3 separate regions of the Homo sapiens genome follow, and all the other regions are linked to region 3. The links are contacts of gene promoters, found by promoter capture Hi-C in human tissues and cell types (Jung and others, 2019). All regions are on one chromosome and are shown on one strand. The core of a region is centred on a gene start or on the middle of the fragment in contact, and the rest is flanking DNA. Distances in the headings are between cores, read along the strand shown.

Region 1 (2,895 bases), core at 71-2,570, 1.1 Mb before region 3:
TCTGCTTCTACCCCTTGGATAACAGCATCTTCTGTCTTTTGCACTCAGAGCACCCGCCCCAAGTCCTGGCTTCAAGTTCTTTTACATTTTTATTTTTTCTGGAGTGCAGTGGTGTGATCATAGCTCAATGCAGCCTCCAACTCCCGAGCTCAAGAGACCCTCCCACCTCACCCTCCGGAGCAGCTAGGACTACAGTTGTGTGCCACCATGCCTGGCTAATTATTTTTTGTAGAGATGGGGTCTCACTATGTTACAAAGGTTGGTCTTGAAGTCCTGACCTCAAGAGATTCTCCCACCTTGGCCTCCCAAAGTGCTGGGATTACGGGTGTGAGCCCATGTGCCTGGCCTGGCTTCAAGTTCTTGATATGCTCTATATGACACCTGACTCAGTGGCTTCAGGGCACAGAAAACCCTGATCAATAAAGAGAAACGACCGCAAAGCCGAGAGCACCAGCAGACCCTGGAGGGCCAGGGAAGCTTCCACGCCTCCCTTCCTCTGGCTCAGAGCACAGCAACAACTCACGGTGGGGTCCAGTCCTCCGTTAACAAGGAGTGGGGACTCTGTGCCAGGCACCGGGCTGTGAACCAGGCAGCCAGCCAGGCAGAAAACAATTCTACAGACACAACCACACCTGCAGGGAGGGCTGCAGAGGAGAAGCGCCAGTGCCAGCAGAGCACGGAGGGAGGAAGTGGAGTCGGGTGCGGGGACCAGGGAAGGCATCCCTGAGGAGGGGACGCGTAAGCTGAAACCGATGGATGGGCAAGAATAAGCGCAGTAGGTGGAGGGCGACGGCACTGCTCCTGGAGGGAAGGACAGACAGCCCTCGCGGCTGCCAGTTCCTGGTCTCACAGTCAACTCTAGCAGTTTCGACTGCATCCTACAGAGCAATGAGTCAACCACCCTGAGGCCCAACAGAGAGTGGCCCGGGAAGACCGATGCTTCTGAAGACTGCTGGCGGCGGTGGAGATGGCAGGGGGATGAGGAGACGGTTGCCACGGTAGAAGGAGAGAGAACTAGAAAGCCTCAGCTGGGTCCTGGCAGCAGAGCCCAGGCCCACCTCACCCTTCAGGACAGCGATGACAGTTGGGCGGCTCCGTGCTCCACGGGTGGCCATTCTGCCATAAGCTTCCCAAGGCACAGTGCTGTCACCAAGGCACACCACGCTTAGGGGCTGTTCTAGTTGCTGTGAGGCTTGCCAAGACCTCAGAGAGCTCTAGTCCAGGAGGACAAAGAACAAAGGGAAAGAAAATACACAGCAGAAAAATAAGGATTCTCATGGACCCACAAAGTGTCGAGGACACTCAAAGGGCAGAGGAATCTCCTCCCAACAGCAGATAGGGGCAGCCGCCTGGAGGAGGCAGCCCGAGCTGGGCAGCCAAGCACAGGGAGTGCTGGAGGGGGTGGGGCAGACAGAGGGAGCAGCCGTGGGACAGCATGGGCCATCAGAGGGCGGAGAGTGGAGCGGGGGAAGACTGTGGAAGGTGAGCTCGGAAAGGCAGACGGGGCCTGGATGAGGGTGGCCTCGAGTGCATGCTGGGCACCAACTCTCGGCTGATGTGTTTCCCACACTGCCAAGGCCTAACCTAAAGGAGGCAGAGTGAGAATGGCAGTGGCCGTGCTGAGGACACACAGCAACAGTGGGTGGTAGGAATCCCAGCAGCAGCAGCTGCTACATCCTGATAAACCCATGGTAAAGGGAAAATACCCTCGGTGGAAAACGCGCAGCTGACTGGGAGCTGCAGCTCACCGCCTCGCACGTGCTGCCTCCACACGAGGAGAGCAGGGGGCTTCTAGCAAATGCCTGTCGCCAAAGTTGACAAATCGTAGGTCCAAGACCGTCTGCCTGACTCCTGGAGCTACAGGGTCAACACGGAAGAGTCCACATATGGAACTCGGGTACAGTCCTCAAACACAACTCAAAGCTTAAGACCCAGGAACACTCTAGGGGCTTCAAGAGAAGTGGTCAGAGGGAAACGGGAAAATGCCCTGAGAAGGAGCACGAGGCCTTTGGGAAGCAACTATGAGGAAAGAGAAGGGAAACTAAACACAAGACAAGCTGGAGAATTTTTTCTTCTTTTTTTTTAGAAAGGGTCTCACTGTCGCCAGACTTGAGTACAGCTCAGGTGATCCTCCCATCTCAGCCTCCAGGGTAGCTGGGACTGCAGGCACATACCGCCACACCTGGCTAACTTTTGTATTTTCTGTAGATATGGAGTTTTGCCACGTTGCCCAGGCTGGTCTCAAACACCTGGCTGCAAGCAATCCACCTGCCTCAGCCTCCCAAGGTGTTGGGATTACAGGCAGAAACCACTGCACCCAGCCAAGATTTTTCATTGGTCAAATTTGTTACTGGCCCCAGAACTATATTCTGCACTACTATATTCTGAACCTGTCCTGAAAGAGAAGGAACTTTCCAGAAGCAGTAGGCCCACCCCGCCCAGCCAGCTCAAGAATACTTCTAACAGATGCAACGGGGTTCTTCTTAGATCCGTGATTGGGTCTTCTCACCCTTAGCAGAATCCTTTGGCTGTGCCTAGAGAGAAGCCTGCTTAAACTTCTCTTCAGATTCTTGTTTTTTTGAGATGGGGTCTTACTATGTGGCCCAGGCTGGCCCCAAACTCCTGGGCTCAAGCCATCCTCCCTGCTCAGCCTCCCAAGTAGCTGAGATTACAGGCGCACGCCACTGCACCTGGCTTCCCTCTTCAGATTCTTGAATCCGCTCGCAGACTGACCCCTCACTTTACTGTTCACGCACAAGGGTTTCAGCCACAATGAAGAAAGGCAGCAGTCACTTCACCAATCAGGGAGCCCTTTGGGGTAACAGGCTGGGGAGGACCTTAGTTCTAAATATTGCACATAACACCCTCCCCGCAAGCTGACCACAAAGCTCCCAC
Region 2 (3,032 bases), core at 404-2,903, 1.5 Mb before region 3:
CCTCAGCCTCCTGAGTAGCTGGGATTACAGGCGCCCTGTCACCACGCCCAGCTAACTTTTGTGTTTTTAGTAGAGACGGGGTTTCTCCATGTTGGCCAGGCTGCTCTCAAACTCCTGACCTCAGATGATCCACTCACTTCTGCCTCCCAAAGTGTTGGGATTACAGGCGTGAGCCACCATGCCCGGCTTTAATTCATTATTGTTAATATTTTTGAGACAGGGTCTTGCTCTGTTGCTCAAGCTGGAGGGCAATGGCACCATCATGGCTCACTGCAACTTCAACCTTCTAGGCTCAAGCGATCCTCCTGTCTCAGTCTCCCAAGTAGCTGGGACCACAGGTGCATGCCACCATGCCCAGCTAACTTTTTTTTTTTTCTTTTTGTAGAGACAGGGTCTTGCGATGTTGCCCAGGCTGGTCTCAAATTCCTGGCCTCCAGCCATCCTCCCACCTGGGCCTCCTGATGTGCTGGGATTACAGGCGTGAGCCACCAGACCCGGGTTAGCTCCACCTTTTAATGGAGGAGAATGATAAGCAGGTTGAAAATGGTGGGGTGGGATTGGAGAAATGCATCATCGTAAAATATTTTTTAACTGGGGGCCCATGTTGGGAGTCGCACGGTTTCTCAGAAAAGGATCCAGTAGTAGCATTAACCGAGGGAGAAAGATAAGCTGTGGGGAAAGGGCTAGTGATTCAGGAGTTGGAATTCCAAACATTTTCCATAGCTTGTCAGGAACATTTGTGCAGACCTTTGGATATATAGAGAGGGAGTCCGTCTGCTGATAAAATGAGCGCTGGGTTTACCAACCTTCGGCCTTGGCCCACCCCTGATCCTCACCGCCGGGCAGTGAGATGGACACGTTATTTGCCTCCATTTGGTGGACTGCGCTCTGCGCTTCCAGAGGTGGAGCAATTGTCCGCCTCCGCCCGGCCAGCACGTGCGGGAGGCTGGATTTGAACCAAACAAGTTATCTGTGTACCCCACGCCTTTGCTTTTACCCACTAGGCGGTAACGTGATTTCACGCCTGAGAGTTTCTTGGCTGAACAAGTTGGAAATCACTGGTTTCAGAGATTGGAAATCACTGGGTGCACGCCCCTGGATTCTTTCCCTAGCCACTCGAGGCCGTCGCGCTTGCCTCGACGTCTCTATTCGCACAGCGCGCAGTTACCACCGCCCCACTCCCACCGCGCCAGCCTGCGGGACTCTCGGGCTTCCCTCGGGCGGTGGGAAAAGAGCCTCCCGGGCTGACTCTGCTCGGCGCGCATGGCTGCCAGGGGAAAGTATTGTCCTTAAATCCAGAGCGGCGATACGCGCAGGGGAGCGATCTCAGACCGCGGCGGAGCATCGGTGATCCCAGGGCCTGCCGCGTTCCAAGGCAAGCGCTAGTACTGCGAGCAGACAGTGGTCACTAAGAAGTCATTACCAGATTGGCAGGGGGAGTCCTAGGGATCCGGGTCCCGCCGTCCCTCACACCTCCCTCCGCGTCCTTCCGGACCCCAGGGCGACGCGGACCCGGCCGGGGGAGCCCGGGGGAGGGGGCCGGGCCGGGGTGGGGCGGGCGCGCGTGCGCGAGCTGTCAGACCGGCCCCGCCCCTCCCCTCCCGCCCCTCCCCCGCTCTCCGGGTGTAGGGCGGGCGGGCGCTGCGGCGGCCGCGGCTGCTGCTTCCTCGGGCCATTTTGCTGTGGAGCGGCGGGGAGGAGGAGCCGCCGAGGAGACCCCGGGCGAGGAGCTGCGAGCCGGAGGAGGCCGCGCGGACTCCGGGCTTTCCGCCGTCGCGGGGATCTCGGGGGGCAAAGGGATCGCCGGGGAGGGGGACCAGAGAGCCGCGCCCGCCGCGCGGAGCGCCCCTTCGCGTCCCCTGCACCATGAGCTGGGGCACCGAGCTCTGGGTGAGTGAGGGGCTGGGCCCGCGGGCAGATGCGGGGCGCGCGCTGCGTTTCCCCGCGGCCTGGGGAGGGGGCGCGGGCCGCGCTGCTGGGCGGAGGCGAGGGCGCGCTGGTCGGGGTCCTCGCGGCCTGGGGAGGAGGCGGGGTTCCAATGCCCCTCGTCCGCCTTGGCCCGAGCAGGAGGTGCGGGCCGGCTTGTCCTTCGGAGGCGAGGGGAGTTGGTGCGGGTCCCCGGCGGCCTGAGGAACGGCGCGGGCGGGCCTCCCTGTCCCCGGCGCCCCGGAGCGGGCCGTGTGTGTCGGGCCGAGCCCTAATCCCCCGGGGCGAGCCGCGGATGCCCGGGGAGGGCCGGGACCGGGCGTGGGGGCGTGGAGGCCCCGGCTGCGCGGCGCTGCGTTGGGTCTCGGGGCGCCCCGGCCGCGAGTTCTGTCCTGGCTCCGCGGAGGCGCTGGCGGATCGGGCACTTCCCCGGGAGCGGGGCGGCCGGGGCGAGCGCCGGGGGTCGGGTTTTGGGGTGCTGGGGCGAGAGTGCGGTCTTCGCTCTGGAGGCGAGGACTTCTGGCCCGTGGCGGCTCCGGGCGCACTTGTTCTTTCGGGGTAGCTCAATCCTGAGTGGGATGTGGGCACTGCGACGTCTGGTCTGGAGGGGAAAGTGGGAGTTAGGGAGAGATCTTACGTGATCTACCTCAGGAAGAGGCGTTCGCGGGGTCAATGATCTTTAACGGTTGCTCGGAGAATAGTTTCCAGTGGGGAAAGTTGGCGGTGAGGGGCGCCTTGCGGGGATGCTTGGCCGGGGGATGCGCACGGTAAACGGGCAGCCCTCAGGGCTGAGGGCCGTCCCCGGAAAGGCGAGGGGCTGGCTGTGGATGGAGCTCTTTTCCTGCCGTCCCCGGATTCCTGGGGAAATCACTGGGCAGGGGATGGGCAGTGCGGCGGCCCGGGAAGGAGCAGACGAAATCTCAGTTACTGCACTGAAATGCCCTCAAGATGAGCCATTTCCCAGGATGAACTCTAAAGTGCCTGAACTACCTTTTGGAATTCTATTTGCAAAGGGTGTGGAGGAGAAAGTGTAGGGTGGTGTTGCTATCTGAGATGAGGCCAAGAAATCTCATATCAAAATAAAACAAGGTTAGAGCAATTACAGA
Region 3 (2,833 bases), core at 14-2,513:
CACATTATGAAAATACTTCATATGGCCTCTCTCCTGTTCTTCCCGAACAGCCATGATGGTAAGTTTTTCTAAAATAACATGATGAAGACAGAACAAAGGGCTTAAATATTTTAGGATCTATTATATAAAAGAGATCTGATTAGATGTTGGAACAGTTCAAGCATCATCTCAACCCAGCTTTCTGAGCTATTTAGGCTTTTCATTTAAAACATATTCAACTTTTAACAAGGCGCTTATTTAAAATATATTTTACTCTAGTACATCAGAGACTTTTGAAAGCGATGTTCTAGGGGAAGCGTCTAATCAAATTCTCAGGGACAGCTTTCAAACAAAAGACTGTTCTATCATTCAACAGTGGTATGGTAGAATTTTTGACACTGTATCTCGACTCGAAAGACCCAGTCCCAGGAAACACACACACAAACAAGAACGCTAAGCTATTAAGTTATTTGATTTGAGCCACATACCATGCAAGCACTGCATTTACCTATTATTTACAAGCAAATCACAACTAGGAAGAAAGAAAAATGTTTATTACAAGGAAAGAAAAGGAGACGGCCAGTCTCAGACCCTTCTGCGTTCAGAGAGACGGCAGAGATTCGCCATGCAGGATGAAATTAAGGTCAGAGAGCCGTTTACGCTATGCTCGGGCTCCCCGGGCTCTTCCTCCCTCTACGGCTGGCCGGCATTGCTGGTGCGATTCGGAAGAACGAGCTGCAGAAGTCGCTCCCGGCCGAGGGAAGGGACCGGGGGCGGTGCGGGGAGCGTTCTGCAGGGAGGCGGCTGGCGAAGATCCCGACGAGGGAGCCCCCACCCACCTGCCGCAGCCGGATGGGGCAGGGCAGGGCCGCGCCGCAGCCAGGCTTGGGGGTGGTTGGGAGGGACCCGGCGGCCTCGCGCCCCCTCCCCCCGTCAGTGACATTCCAGCGGCGGCGCCGAGCCTCGGCCCGGCTGCTCCTCCGCAGCCCACGCGCCACAAAAGCAGCGGCAGCGGCTTCCCCCACTCAGCCGAATGGAGGCAGCCCCGCGGCCCGCCCGGCTCACCTGTCCGCGCGCCGGCCCCGCCCCGCCTGAAGAGCTGCCCAGCTCCCACCCGGGGGTCGGCTGCCCGGGGCCCCGCTCCCTCCCGGAGCTCCCCGGCTGCCCCTCTCACCGGCTCTCGGGGGGTGAGGGGCGTGGGTGCGTCGGGCCGAGGGGTGCTGAAGGACCGAGGAGCCTCCGCGGCCTCCGCTCCACACCGTTCACTCCGCAGCGGGTAGTGGCGGCGACGCGCGCGCCCCGCCTCTTTTATAAGCGGCTACGCGCGCTCCCGCGGCGGGCGGGCGCGAGCGCCGGGGGAAGCGCCCCGGCGCTGCGCGAGGGGTGGGGGAGCGCGCCGGCGGAGCAAAGGGGGCGGTGCTCCCGCCGGCTCGCCGCCCGACCGCCCGGCGGAAAGGGCCGAGCGATCCCGGAAGGAGCCGAAGCGACAATGCGGGGGAAGAGGTGAGCGAGGGGCGGGCCGCGGGAGGATGGGGAAATGGGGCGCGCGCAAGGGGTGAGGGGTGATGGTGCAGTGAGGTCACTGCCTACGCCCTGGCGGTAGAGACGCTCCCGCCTCACCTCCCTCCCCGCAGCTTGCGCCCCGCCACCGCCCGCCCTGCGGACAGTCGTCTGCATCGCACCACTCCGCCCTGGGAGCTCTTCCAGGACTGCGGAGAAGGGCGGGGCGGGGGTATCGCTGCAGTCTGGCTGGGGATGCTGCGCGCCCCGGCCGGAAAAACGCCCAGTCCCAAAGGGTGAGATCACCCGAGTGCGTCTCTTCCTGCTCACTTTCCCGAGGAGGAGGCTGGCGCTGGGGTCCCAAGTCAGCCTAATTCGGTGGGGGCTGGGGTCAAGAAGACGCGGATGATTTGGGGCCCCGGGTTTGAGGAGGTGGTGAGAGGAAAAGGCCAAATCCGAATCAGAAAAAAAATTAAGTCGACTAATTTGGGGCATAAAGCTGTCATTCTGGGATTTGGAGAGTTAATTTCTTATGTTCTTGGAGATTATGGGGGAGGAAACGGCAGCGGCAAAATAATAATTTCTTACATTCCTGCAACAAAAGCTTTCTCACAGGTCGCCAGTGGAATAGGCTACATTCATCCTATTTCATAAACAAGACATTAAGGTTCTTTCTGGCACAATTAATCGAACTTGCCTTGTGTACTAGGCACTATGCTAAGTATTTCGTGTTACCTTTTCATTTCTTAATCTTTGCAATAATTTTATGAGATGTTTTCCCATTTTACAAATGGGCACTCTTACATAATGCTCATGTAGGCTAAGTCTCTTGGCCCAGGTCAGGCAGCTACCAATTGGAAGAGCTAGGATTTACATCTCAGCAGTCAGAACCTTCCCTTTGCAACCGTATGTGTATTGCCTTCAAATAGGAAAGGGAGGCATTTTGATGCGGGTGGCTGCTGGGGTGCAGAAAGAGAAAAATAAGATTCTCAGAATTTCTGATACTTAAAGTCCTAGCAGTTTAAGGTCCTGGCTCTAAACTCTGTAGCCAGAAGCCCTGGATTAGGAAGCCCTTTCCCTATCCCCATTCCGGTGACAGCTGGGCCGCAGCCACTGGGAGTAACACCCAGATCATTCCTGTGCAGTCAGGCAGACGGGGAGCTCTGCAGCTTAGGAAGGCTTCAGCCTCCTGGTTACCAAGCAGCTCTCCTCTTTAAATAAATATAAAGTCATTGGACACTGCACCAGAATCTGGGCCCAGACCTGGCCCTGAGCTTCCTGGCCCTCTGCAGTTTGGCTTCTTTCCCCGTGCCTGGGACCTGCAATACGGTTTCTAAGCTGTCCTGGCTGTAGC

The links. The method cuts DNA at HindIII sites, captures the fragments that hold promoters and counts their contacts. A contact is called where the count stands out against the background at its distance.
Region 1: a fragment that was not itself captured here is called in contact with the fragment with the promoter of SPTAN1 in region 3 in 1 of the 25 tissues and cell types used here (hippocampus).
Region 2: the fragment with the promoter of FNBP1 here is called in contact with the fragment with the promoter of SPTAN1 in region 3 in 1 of the 25 tissues and cell types used here (heart left ventricle).

The regions. Positions count from the first base shown.
Region 1 is chr9:129,629,619-129,632,513 of GRCh38, reverse strand. The region is part of intron 1 of NTMT1 (N-terminal Xaa-Pro-Lys N-methyltransferase 1); the gene reads right to left. Among named protein-coding and RNA genes, the nearest start is that of NTMT1, 4.9 kb to the right of the region's middle. RefSeq lists an enhancer at 373-1,163. The HindIII fragment of the contact is 4,298 bases long and covers 1-2,895 here.
Region 2 is chr9:130,041,810-130,044,841 of GRCh38, reverse strand. It overlaps FNBP1 (formin binding protein 1), which reads left to right and starts at 1,653. Exons shown (of 17, transcript NM_015033.3): 1 at 1,653-1,890. The coding sequence starts at 1,867. RefSeq lists silencers at 1,391-1,950, 2,131-2,290. The HindIII fragment of the contact is 16,914 bases long and covers 1-3,032 here.
Region 3 is chr9:128,551,017-128,553,849 of GRCh38, reverse strand. It overlaps SPTAN1 (spectrin alpha, non-erythrocytic 1), which reads right to left and starts at 1,263. Exons shown (of 57, transcript NM_001130438.3): 1 at 1,154-1,263. LOC101929270 (a long non-coding RNA gene) reads left to right here and starts at 1,437. Exons shown (of 4, transcript NR_188457.1): 1 at 1,437-1,482. RefSeq lists a silencer at 850-1,619. The HindIII fragment of the contact is 8,229 bases long and covers 1-2,833 here.